2 separate regions of the Homo sapiens genome follow, and region 2 is linked to region 1. Evidence: promoter capture Hi-C in human tissues and cell types (Jung and others, 2019). All regions are on one chromosome and are shown on one strand. The core of a region is centred on a gene start or on the middle of the fragment in contact, and the rest is flanking DNA. Distances in the headings are between cores, read along the strand shown. Region 1 holds the start of ST6GAL2 (ST6 beta-galactoside alpha-2,6-sialyltransferase 2). Region 2 overlaps ST6GAL2 (ST6 beta-galactoside alpha-2,6-sialyltransferase 2).

Region 1 (5,225 bases), core at 698-3,197:
CCGTGCTGTTTTACATTTCTGTAAACTCTTTGAGGGAGTTCTGGGCGCCCACTGTCTAGCTCAGAGTTCCAGGCTAAGGTAGGCACTAATGAATGCTGAATGAATTGGGTAGCCAGTTAATTGCTTTTTCCCCCCTAAAAAAAAAGTCTAAATTACTTGAATAAAAGTATTTGCGGATTTTTAAATAATACATTTAATGGCAGATCTCTGTCTCCAAAACGTGTGTCCTTCTAGCGACTGAGGGTGTGGGGTGGGGTGAGGGGTGACTAACCAGTCCCCCTGAGATGGGCCCAACCTTAGCAATATTATCCATCTACCTGGGATTCCCCTACACCTGAACAGCTCTTTGGGTCCGCGAGAGAACCAGCGGGGTGGGGCACCCAATGCCAGGAGTGCGCGCGGAGAGACACGCTGAAGTTCACAGGAGAGTATTTACCAGCAAACAAAGGGCGGCGCGGTTTGGGGTCCTAGGACCAGCTGCCGCCGTCTCGAGAAAACGCAAGGGCCGCGGTGACAAGTGGACATTCCGCACGCGACCAGACCGACACTCGATGGGCACCTCCCCGCGGCCCCGCCCGCAGGCTCCAGCTGCCCAGCTCGCAGCCGCCCACTGGCTCCGGAGGCTGCTTCAACCACTTGTCCCGCCGGCTTCTACCCCAAGAACTTTCCGTCCCTCTTGGGGTTGGGGACCGGCAGTGTGGAGGGGCGGGCAGGTGGGGGTCTCCAGGGAGCACCGTCACCGGACTTGGCGAGCTACCCTTCCCAAATGAAAGGTGGCCCGCTCCCAAGTCCATCCCATATCCTTAGAGAAGCTCTGGGAGCGAGGGCCAGGCGGCAGTGCGGAGCCTGGTTGAGCGAGATGAACAAAGGGAGCTAGCGAGCCGGGGAGGATGCTGCGCTCCCCTGCGCCCCACCCAGCCGGCTGCCAGGCGCTGCCAGGCGCGCAGGTAGCCCGGCCTTCCGCGCTGGCGGGGGGAGGTGTTGGACAGGGTACACAAAGACTCACTTCCGCCGGGGCAGGCGCCGGGACTCCCTCCTGGCCGCCCACAGCCTGTGCGCATTCCTGCATTCCTGCCGCCGCCCGGGACCCGAGTGCCCCGGAGGTGTCCAGGCGCGGTGCCAGGCGGGTACTGTGCAGGTAACCTTCGGAAGAACTAGGGCTGGATGGAGGCGGCGGCCGGGGAGAAACACGCCTTTTTAGGCAGCCGTGCTGCCCCGCACCGCCCCACGCAGCCCAAGTCTGCAGTCACTCTCCGCGACAAGCAGAAATCCGCGCGCAGCCAGGGAGCGCCCCGCCTGCGCTCGCCGGCGGGCCGAGCTGCCGGGCCGGGGGCGCGGGGAGGGGGCAGCCCAACTTCCCAGTGCCCGGCTCCCGCCAGCTAGGTGAGCCTGGAGCGGGAAGGATGAAAGGGATCGCGGAGAGGGAGGGGGCTCTGGGGCGAGCGGAGCTCGGGGGCGGGGCGCGGCGCAGCCTCGGTGCGTGGGCCGGGAACCGCCGCCTCTCCCCGGGGCTCGGGGCCGCGGTTCCTCTGGCCGCGGGAGCCGCCGCCGCGCTGCCCGAAACAATGAGGCGTGCAGCGCGGGGCTGAGCGTAGCCTCCCGCCGGCTTTGAGGCCGAGCCACCCGCTGTGCCCCGCCGCCCGCGCTTGCAGCTGCCGCCGGCGCGGAGCAGCGCTGGCCCCGGAGAGGTGATCCCGCAGGCCGCCTGGGACGGGAGCGCGGGGCAGCTCCGAGACCCCACGGTGGCAGGAGGAGGACTCGAGCCTGCGGCAGGACGACTCCCGCCGCGCACTCGCCTTCTGCAGCCCCCAAGTTCCGCGGCGTGAGTCGGGGACCCCGGCCAGGGTCCCAGCTCTAGCGGGCGCCAGCGTGAGTGTGGGAGCGCGTAGCGCGCGCACCCGAGCGGCTGCCGGGGAATAAAATGTGACACGCACGCCTTGGACTCCAGTGCCGCGCTGCCAGGGGGAGCACCGAGCACCACGGTGTCGTGCGCTTCGAGGCGCGGCGTGGGAAGAAGGCTGGTAAGGGAGGGCACTGGGTAAGGGTTGGCGACGCCTTTCTTGGTGGCGCTGCAGCCTCCGCGCTGCTGTGCGCGGAGTTACACTCCGTGTTTAGGAGCGAGACCCGTGTGTGGGGAATGTTGAAGGTGGTTTGGGGAAAAGCAGGAAATTCTGGAGAAGCGAACGGGAGGACGGCTTGCGCTTTGGGGACGGGCGGATACAGTTGTGCCCCTGTGGCTCAGTAAAGGTGATCTTTTATTTTGGCTCTTTTGGCTCTGGAAGGGAGTGAAGATTTTTGTCTTTCTTCAGCCAACCCCCGTACAAAACTGCACTTCTTAAAGGTTAAAGTGTGTTCTGTTCATTTCTGGTTCTCTGTGGCTATAATGTTTGGGGTAGTAGGGATCTTTAGAATCCTAAATACCCGAGTGTTAATTCTTATGTAGTTGGCAGGCGGCAAACTCCGCTTTTGGGTTTACTTTCCGCGGTGTTACGGAGTGGATATTTGATGCATTCTTTTGAGTAGGGAGTGTGACGTCCATCTCATTCGGATTTGCCGGTTCTGTGTTGGGGGACTGAGTGAAGTTAAACTCAATGGCTCCCGCAAGTGCTGCCTTCCAAAGAGCTGAATAGCTGTGTTTGGAGAAGCTGTGCTTTCCAGGAATTTAAATGAGACTTTTTGTGATTGCCTTCCAGGTCTCTCCTCCTAGTACCATATTTGTTTTGTCAGGCTGAACTTTCAAAGCTGTTTTGTAATCTGAGAAGCACTTTTGGGGGGAAAGTAATGCTTGGCTGGATTTTTGTGAACTTATTTTTATTGGACATGCGAAAAATTTGGCGAGAGGCAAACCATATTTGGTTGAAATCATTGTCTTTTGCACCACTGCCGTTCTGACCATAAAGGGGCATGCTGACCCTCCTCGCCGAGGACTGCCTGCTTGGGTGAGGGGGGTCTTTGGTGGGCTGGAAGCACATTTTGTATTTAGAGAACTTTCTGCACACTTGAAAAACCCCATGCTGGTTACTTTGATGCTTCCCTTTTTTGAAATTCTGATCAACATTTTTTGCCAACTTGAAATATAATTTATGACCAAGGAAGAATTCCAATAAAGTGAAGTGCTATATATATATGATGTATATGTATATACATACACATATGTATATATGTGTGTGTGTGTATGTATATATATATATATATATATATATATATGCGCTGCAAATTTAGGGTTAAAACTTTTTTTAAAAGGAAAACTGATGTGTGGCCTTGAACCTGTTTTTACCCACTCTCCTTCCCCCATTATTTTTCTGGAACTGACAACCAAAATTTTTATATACCACTTGAGGAATTTTGTACTAATGCATTAAAAGAAACTGTTGGCAAAGGTGAATGGATATTGTGCTCAAAACTGATGAAAGTCTAAAATAATAGGTGAAGTGCCTTGAATTTTACTGCAAAGTTAAAAAGGCACTCTATCCAATTTTTGCCGCAATAGATACAAATGGTAGCATCTTACATTTTTGCTTGGTGCTGTGAAAGCTTCTGGAGTTTTGAGTTAAATGTCTTGTAGAGATTGTGATAGGAGTCACTGCTTTATATGGAGTACTGAGCTCCACAGTTTAGAGAGGCTTTGGATGGATACTCCTGGAAAGAGTGAGGTCAGAGCAAGGACCAACATTTGGTGAGTTTGCTATGTGGTGCACAGGATCTAGGAAGCAAGGATACAAAATTCAGGATTTTTAGACTAGAGGATTCAAAGTTGAGACAATTTAACATTTGAAAATATGTGAATGATTTATTATGCAGAAGAGGGCAGTTATCTGTGTTGAGTTTCTGATGAGGATAATTAAGAGGGAAAAGGTTTACTCTGTGGGGTGAAGACATAAGTTGAGTCTAGGGAGTTGTGGCCAATCCAGCCAGCAAAGATTAAATAGCGAAGGGACTGCTGAAAAAATTCCTGTACGTGCTTGTTTCTGGAGGTTCCACCCCCCCACCCCCGAGTTTCTCTTCTTTCTGAGATGATTTCAGTGTGTGAGGCTCTGGTCTATTGCTTATACTGATACTGACTGAAATTTTACCCTCCAGGTTTAGAATTTATCCAAGCATTTCTCAAATGATTAAATCTTTTCTGAAAGACAAACTGATTTCTAGGCTTCTGCCACTCCTTCTTAGGTAAATAAATGATAGGTTCCTTTCCAAAAACTTGGAGATATTTGTCCTCTGGGAAGCTCTTAATTAGTTTGCAGATTGCTACCTCATGGGTGAGACTTTGAATAAAAATATCTTATGCATGATAATAAGGACAGTCTTTGTTAATGCATTTGCTCTTTAAATGTATTGTGTTATTCCTGATTGATTGAGTTTTTTCTTTTCCTGGATTTTCTGTAATATGATCTTAAAATTTAATTGCTTAAATTAAATTAAGTACTTAATTCAGCATGCATAAATGTCTAAGGGAATCAGATAGTACCCTCATGGCAGGTGTATGTTAAGCTTTGATTTTCTAAGCATTGAAATCTGAAATCTCATCCCTTAAAAAAAATGGGATGAAATTCCCAAATGACTATAAAAGTAACAATTGCATATAATTATATACTAATTTTGGAAAGTGGAAGGGAAACACAGATGCATATTTGCACAGAAATTTTCAATGTTCTTACACCAATTTTTGATATCAATGCCAAACACTGAATGGGCTGTAGATGACCAGCCACTGTTAGTGGATTACCACATTTTCAGTTTAATATACCTACCATTTTTCCGAAAGCTCTCCTTCCAACTTTTGAGAAATTTCTTTCTAAATGTTATTAAGTACACAATGCGAAGATATCAGTGTTAGAGAAACACGGATTTATTATGCCCCTTACAAAATTTGAAATTTACCCTTGCTTGGTCCCAGCCACCTCCCACCCCTCCCATTGAATTGATAGGGGAACAGTTGCAATTCAAAATACTTGGCATCTACCTAGTCCACAGGTGAAATACATTTAAAGGGGATGAAGTATGACCTGGGCAGTCCTAAGGCTTTGCAGGAGTTGGTGATCTGGTCCAGCTCCAGCATTGGTCCTAGCCCTGGTGAAAGCAGGGTCCCAGCAGTTGTGACTATTATCTTCACTTTGCCACCTGCAGGTTCCTGATTATCCCACAGTACCCAGGGCCTACTGGTTGGTTGGGAGAATTGTTCTGTGTATGGAAATGACATCAGAGGCATGCTGCCCACTGCGGAGGAC
Region 2 (5,225 bases), core at 1,708-4,207, 46 kb after region 1:
TGCACCCCCGCGGCCTGCGCAGCTGCGCTGTCGTCATGTCTGCAGGCGCAATCCTCAACTCTTCCTTGGGCGAGGAAATAGGTAGGTCTCAGCGGGGGGACCAGGTCGCCCTGTCTTGAGCCAGTGTGTCCCTGGGGGCCGGTTCTTTCTGAGCGCGCCTCTGGATCTCTGACGGGGCAAGCTGGGGTCTCCGCACCAGGTGTTCCTAATATTAGCTGGAGATTCTTCAGGTGCTTTCCCATTGCTGGCACAGAATGAGTCTGCCTGGGGTCACAGCAGAAGTACTCTTCGGGAGACTCTTAGAGCAGGGATTTGGGGAATGCTAGGGAGCAGGAAGGGTCCTCCCCATAGCTGATGCCAGTAGGCAGTGGAAGGAAAGCGCCGCCCTTTGCCCCCGGCGTCCTTCTCACTGTTCAGACTTCGTATCCCATAGAAACCGCAGTCTGCATGGATATGCCCCCAGGCTGTGGCCCCTGAAAGCCCGGTGAACCCATCCTGCAGTGGGAATATGGGAAGGGAACAAGAGGAGGAGGCAAGAAAGCAGAAGCTGCCCAATCAGGGCGTCAGCTCCAAAGAGCAGGGTGCATGAAGATAATATTGGTTACTGTGAGCTCTGAGAAGAGCCCAGCTGCTGTTGGGAACATCTTTCCCATGGGAGAATAAGTTCCGGCCTCCCAACTGTTGGCGCAAATCCAACCTTTGGGGCACTGCCAGTGCACCTACCAGGGACCTTCTCCAAGATGGTAAATAACATGCAACACCTGGGCTTCCTCCCTCCCTGCCAGGCTCTGCCTTCACATCCCTGTCAAGAGCCCTGGAGCACATGTTTCCCAGCTCCTGTATCAGTCAGGGTTCTCCAGAGACTCACACCAGGAGGATATGTGTCTATACAGAGACAGATTTATTTTAAGGACTTGACTCTCATGATCGTGAAGGCTGGCAAGTCTGAAATAGGTAGTGCAGCCCAGCAGATGGGAAACTCAGGCAGAGTTTCTGTGTTGCTGTCTTGAGGCAGAATTGTTTCTTTTTTAGGAAACTTCAGTCTTTGTTCTTAAAGCATTCACCTGGCTTGAGGAAGCGCACCTGCATTTTGAGAGTCGTCTGCTTTTCTCAAAGTCTAGTGATTTAACTGTTAATCACATCTTAAAAACACCTTCCCAGCAACATCTGGACTAGTGTTTGACCAACCAGCTGGGCACTGTGGCCTAGCCAAGATGGCACACAACATTAGCCATCACTATTTCTTCCTAGTTTTCAAGTAAAATACCAATTCTAATCTTTTTTGATTGATGGGGCCATGGCAGGGTTCAAATACGTTTCCCTCCTGCAGAGTGGTGTAGGTTCTGCACCAGATGGGCCTGCATTGGCTCTCCTCAGAATTCCCCTTCCTCGCTGGATCACATTCATTTCCCCACCTGCCCCAGACTCTCACCCTGTCTTGCCAGAGATACCCAGGCTCTTGTGTTGCCATAGCTGGGCTCTCCCTCAGCAGTTTCAGATCCCTTTGCTCCCGGAACCCCCCTTCTTCCCAGGCTAATTCCACTGCTAGACCAGTCAGCAAGCAGCTTGGCCCTTTAGGCTCATTCATTTGACAAATATGTGTTTAGCCCCTAATATGTGCTTGATTCTGTACGAGGAGCAGTAAAACAAATGTGAGTCAAATACAGCGTCAGCCTCAAGTCCAGATATAAAACAATCATGTCCTGTACACTCTCACAGTAGGCGTTGTTAGGGCATAACTGGTCTGGAAGTGACATTCCGGGAGTGTTGCTCCCTCTTTGCAAATAAGTAATCTTTGTTGTCTTCATTTTAAGCGGATCCATTAGTTGTTCTGTGTCCTTGAAGAGTGGCCTATGTTCCAGAGTTCTCTCGGAATAGGGTGAAGCCACTGTAGGCAGGCTCAGAAGCCCAGATCTCAGCTCAGCAGAAGTCCTTGGGCATGAGGCTGAATGAGAAATATTTTTAAAGTTAAAAAAAACAAGACAGTGAGTCTGGAATCAAGGTCTGGGGTACCTGTGTCCCTGTGCTGACATTACAGCAGGCTCATAATAACACAGTCCATGTGTCATATAAGCTTGTAGCCAAAGCCAGAGCAGAGCAGCCTGCAATTTATTAAGAAGAAGCAGTGGTTTAGAGGTCCCCGGGGTGAAATAACACCACAGTTCTTTCTCATTTCTGAGAGCCAATATTAATAATGTGGAGAAGGAATTTAAGTATTATGCTTGAAGCAGGCAGTAACTTGCTTCCGGTTTGGTTTTGTTTTAAACACCTCTGCATCAGAGGTGAAGATCTGGATTGCTCTTGCATGTCAGTGGGCAGTCCCTCGTTCTTTTTTTCTGCATAAATATCCCTGACCAGAATCTTGTAAACTCTGTTTACAATTTGGAAGAGAACGTGAAAGACGCTGAGAAGTCCATGTTTCTGGGAAACTTGAAATGCCAGTTATATCTTTGTTAATTTCTAGTATCCAAATCTAATTTATTTGGCATGCACTTGCATGAGCCTTTATGATTAGAACTGTAGAATCACAACTGAAGAACATGCCTGGAAATTTCTTTAAAATTCTCTTTATTGTTTTGTCTAGGGTTGTTTGGATCAGATTTTGTATCTACTATTTTAAGAACATGTAACCATAGCATGGCTCAATTTGTATAAACAAAAAGTTTCATTTGTATAAGTTGGTATCTCAGCATCAGCAGTGTACATGCCAGGTGCCGACCTCGCTCCTTCCTGTTCACCTGAATATATGCAAGCAAACCCACATAGTTATGAATGGCTTGCAGAATACAAACAAACTCTGGCAGCAAATTCCTTCAGGCAGCTTAGAATATTGGGGGCATGGTGTAGCGAAATTCTTGTTGGCCGCTAAGCATCTACTTGTGAATTGGCTAAATGAAGATCAAAAGACTTACCAAAGATCACGATCTTATGAAAAATTGAAGGCAGAGCTAGGAAGTGTCTCAGATGATCACTGCTTATCAGCCCTACCTATGTTCTGCCAGGAGGAGCCCTCTCCATGCTGACGTCAAAGGGAGACCCAGTCAGTCTCAGGTTTGCTTACTGGCTGCCCTTTCGCTCCCCCTGGTGTTTGCTCCACTGGCAGTGCAGCCCCCATCCCCCTACCCTTCTGTTGGAACTGGGTCACACAATGGAATTGGTTTTGGTTAGAAAAGTAGAGCAGTTGTAAACACTTCCACTGTGAATGTGTTATTGAAAAACAAACTAATTGTTTTGGAAACCTGGATCATTCTTTCCTAGAGTTATAAGATGATCTGTTTTCATCCATGCATATAAGCAATAATAATTTGCTTCTATGCAGTGCTACTAGCATTCATGTGGAAACATGTTACAGAGCAGAAAGGTCTGCTCTGAACCACCAGTAATAGCCTTCATGTGGGAAACCAAGATCTGTGTACCTGAAACTCGAATTCTGGCAAGTGCATGGGAAATGGGACATGGAGGGAGAGACTGGGGGTGGGATGCATAGACTGGTGGAGAGGGCTTGAGATTTGACATGTCCTGTTACCTTTTAAAAAAGCAAGAAAGAAGAAAGCAGTCCATATACTCATCCAATTAGCATTATTTATTGATCACCAACTCTCCACCAGATCCTAGGCTAGACACAAAAATGAATAGGTCACAGGCTCAACTATCCATACCGGCACACTTCAGTGGTAAACAGACAATTCCAGTGTTGTGGGTTGGAGAAGGACAGAGAGATATGTAGGCTGACAAGGCAGAAATGACAACGGATTCCTAACTCCCCTGAGGGCTGGTAGAGAGAAGAGATTGGTAAAGACTGCTCCAGGGAGAGGAGACCAAGCTGAAGGCCCAGCATCATATGGAAGTGAGAAACAGCATGTTGTGCAGGTGGTGAGAGCTACAGGGAGTACATGGGCTCGTAGGGACAGAAGAGAGAAGCAGGCTTGGAAGGCAGATCATCTTCCTGGATGCCCTTGCAAGCCACTCTATGAATATTAGACTTCACTTAATTGAAATCAGGTACCACTTATATAGTACAGACAAGGCCCTGTTCAAAATGCTCTTGTTTTTTTTGTTTGTTTGTTTTTTTGCTTTTTTGAGATGGAGTCTCCCGCTGTTGCACAGGCTGGAGTGTAGTGGCACAATCTTGGCTCACTGCAACCTCCACTTCCCAGGCTCAAGCTATTCTCCTGCGTCAGCCTCCCGAGTAGCTGGGATTACAGGCACGCGCCACCATACCCGGCTAATTTTTGTGTTTTTAGTAGAGATGGGGTTTCATGATGTTGGCCAGGCTGGTCTTGAACTTCTGACCTCAAGTGATCTGCTCGCCTCGGCCTCACAAAGTGCTGGAAGTACAGGTGTGAGCCACTGTGCCCAACCCAAAGTGCTTTTTATGTGCTAACTGTTGTAAACCTTACAACCCTAAGTGATAGATAACTTTGTTCCCATTTTACAGATAAGGAAATGAAGGTACCTCCAGTCACATGTGCAGAGTCTGGATTCAAACCCCAGTCTGGGTCTCCAGAAACACTAGCTCTCAGCCCTGTGCCCATGATGTGCAGCCATTGCAGATAGTCACTGTAGAGAGATCACTCCAGAGCCTGGACTTGAGGGTGCAAGGGAAGTACATCAAGAGGTGAGGGTTACAGGTCCTGGGGAGAAACAGGGCTCCCAGGGTGATGGAGCTCCCAAAGCGATGCTTTGTCCAATCCCAGGCAGGCCATTCTCTAGTGACTGGAGGCTTGCTCTCCTGCTGTTTGAATTTTCTCATCAGTGTAGGAGAGGGGGATGATGTGGTGAATGGGGCCTGGGGCAGGGCGGTGACCGGGTGCTGGCCCAGCAGCTCCTTGAAGGGCTTTAATTTTCCTTCCATGGATGCACTTGTCTGGCTCCATTCTCAAGGACAACACAGCATGGTTCTGGCCTGGAAATGCCTTCTCCAGAAATGGAACTTGACTTTCTTCCCCTTGTATTTGCTGTCTGACCTATTCCTTTTTTTCTAAATATGAATGGACAGCTTCTATTCTCACAGTGCATTATCAAGGAATGCACAGCCAGGTGTACGTTTACAGAACGTGTCTGTGTGAGAGACAGTCTCAGCGCACCCTCCCCTTCCATCCCAACCCCACGCTGCTCACAGTGGCTGTTCATAGAGGGCTTGCACTGGGCCTAGCCACAAGCCTACATGACCCTGCCTCCCTGCCCTCTCCATGCAGGTGGCCTTTTAACTCTGCAGACTAATA

What was found. Contacts are between HindIII fragments. The study calls those that stand out against the background at their distance.
Region 2: a fragment that was not itself captured here is called in contact with the fragment with the promoter of ST6GAL2 in region 1 in 1 of the 25 tissues and cell types used here (liver).

The regions. Positions count from the first base shown.
Region 1 is chr2:106,882,889-106,888,113 of GRCh38, reverse strand. ST6GAL2 (ST6 beta-galactoside alpha-2,6-sialyltransferase 2) reads left to right here and starts at 1,947. Exons shown (of 6, transcript NM_001142351.2): 1 at 1,947-2,021. It overlaps LOC124907864 (a long non-coding RNA gene), which reads right to left and starts at 1,581. Exons shown (of 2, transcript XR_007087169.1): 1 at 1,007-1,581. The HindIII fragment of the contact is 7,907 bases long and covers 1-4,011 here.
Region 2 is chr2:106,837,891-106,843,115 of GRCh38, reverse strand. It overlaps ST6GAL2 (ST6 beta-galactoside alpha-2,6-sialyltransferase 2), which reads left to right. Exons shown (of 6, transcript NM_001142351.2): 2 at 1-81. Among named protein-coding and RNA genes, the nearest start is that of ST6GAL2, 46 kb to the left of the region's middle. The HindIII fragment of the contact is 5,765 bases long and covers 75-5,225 here.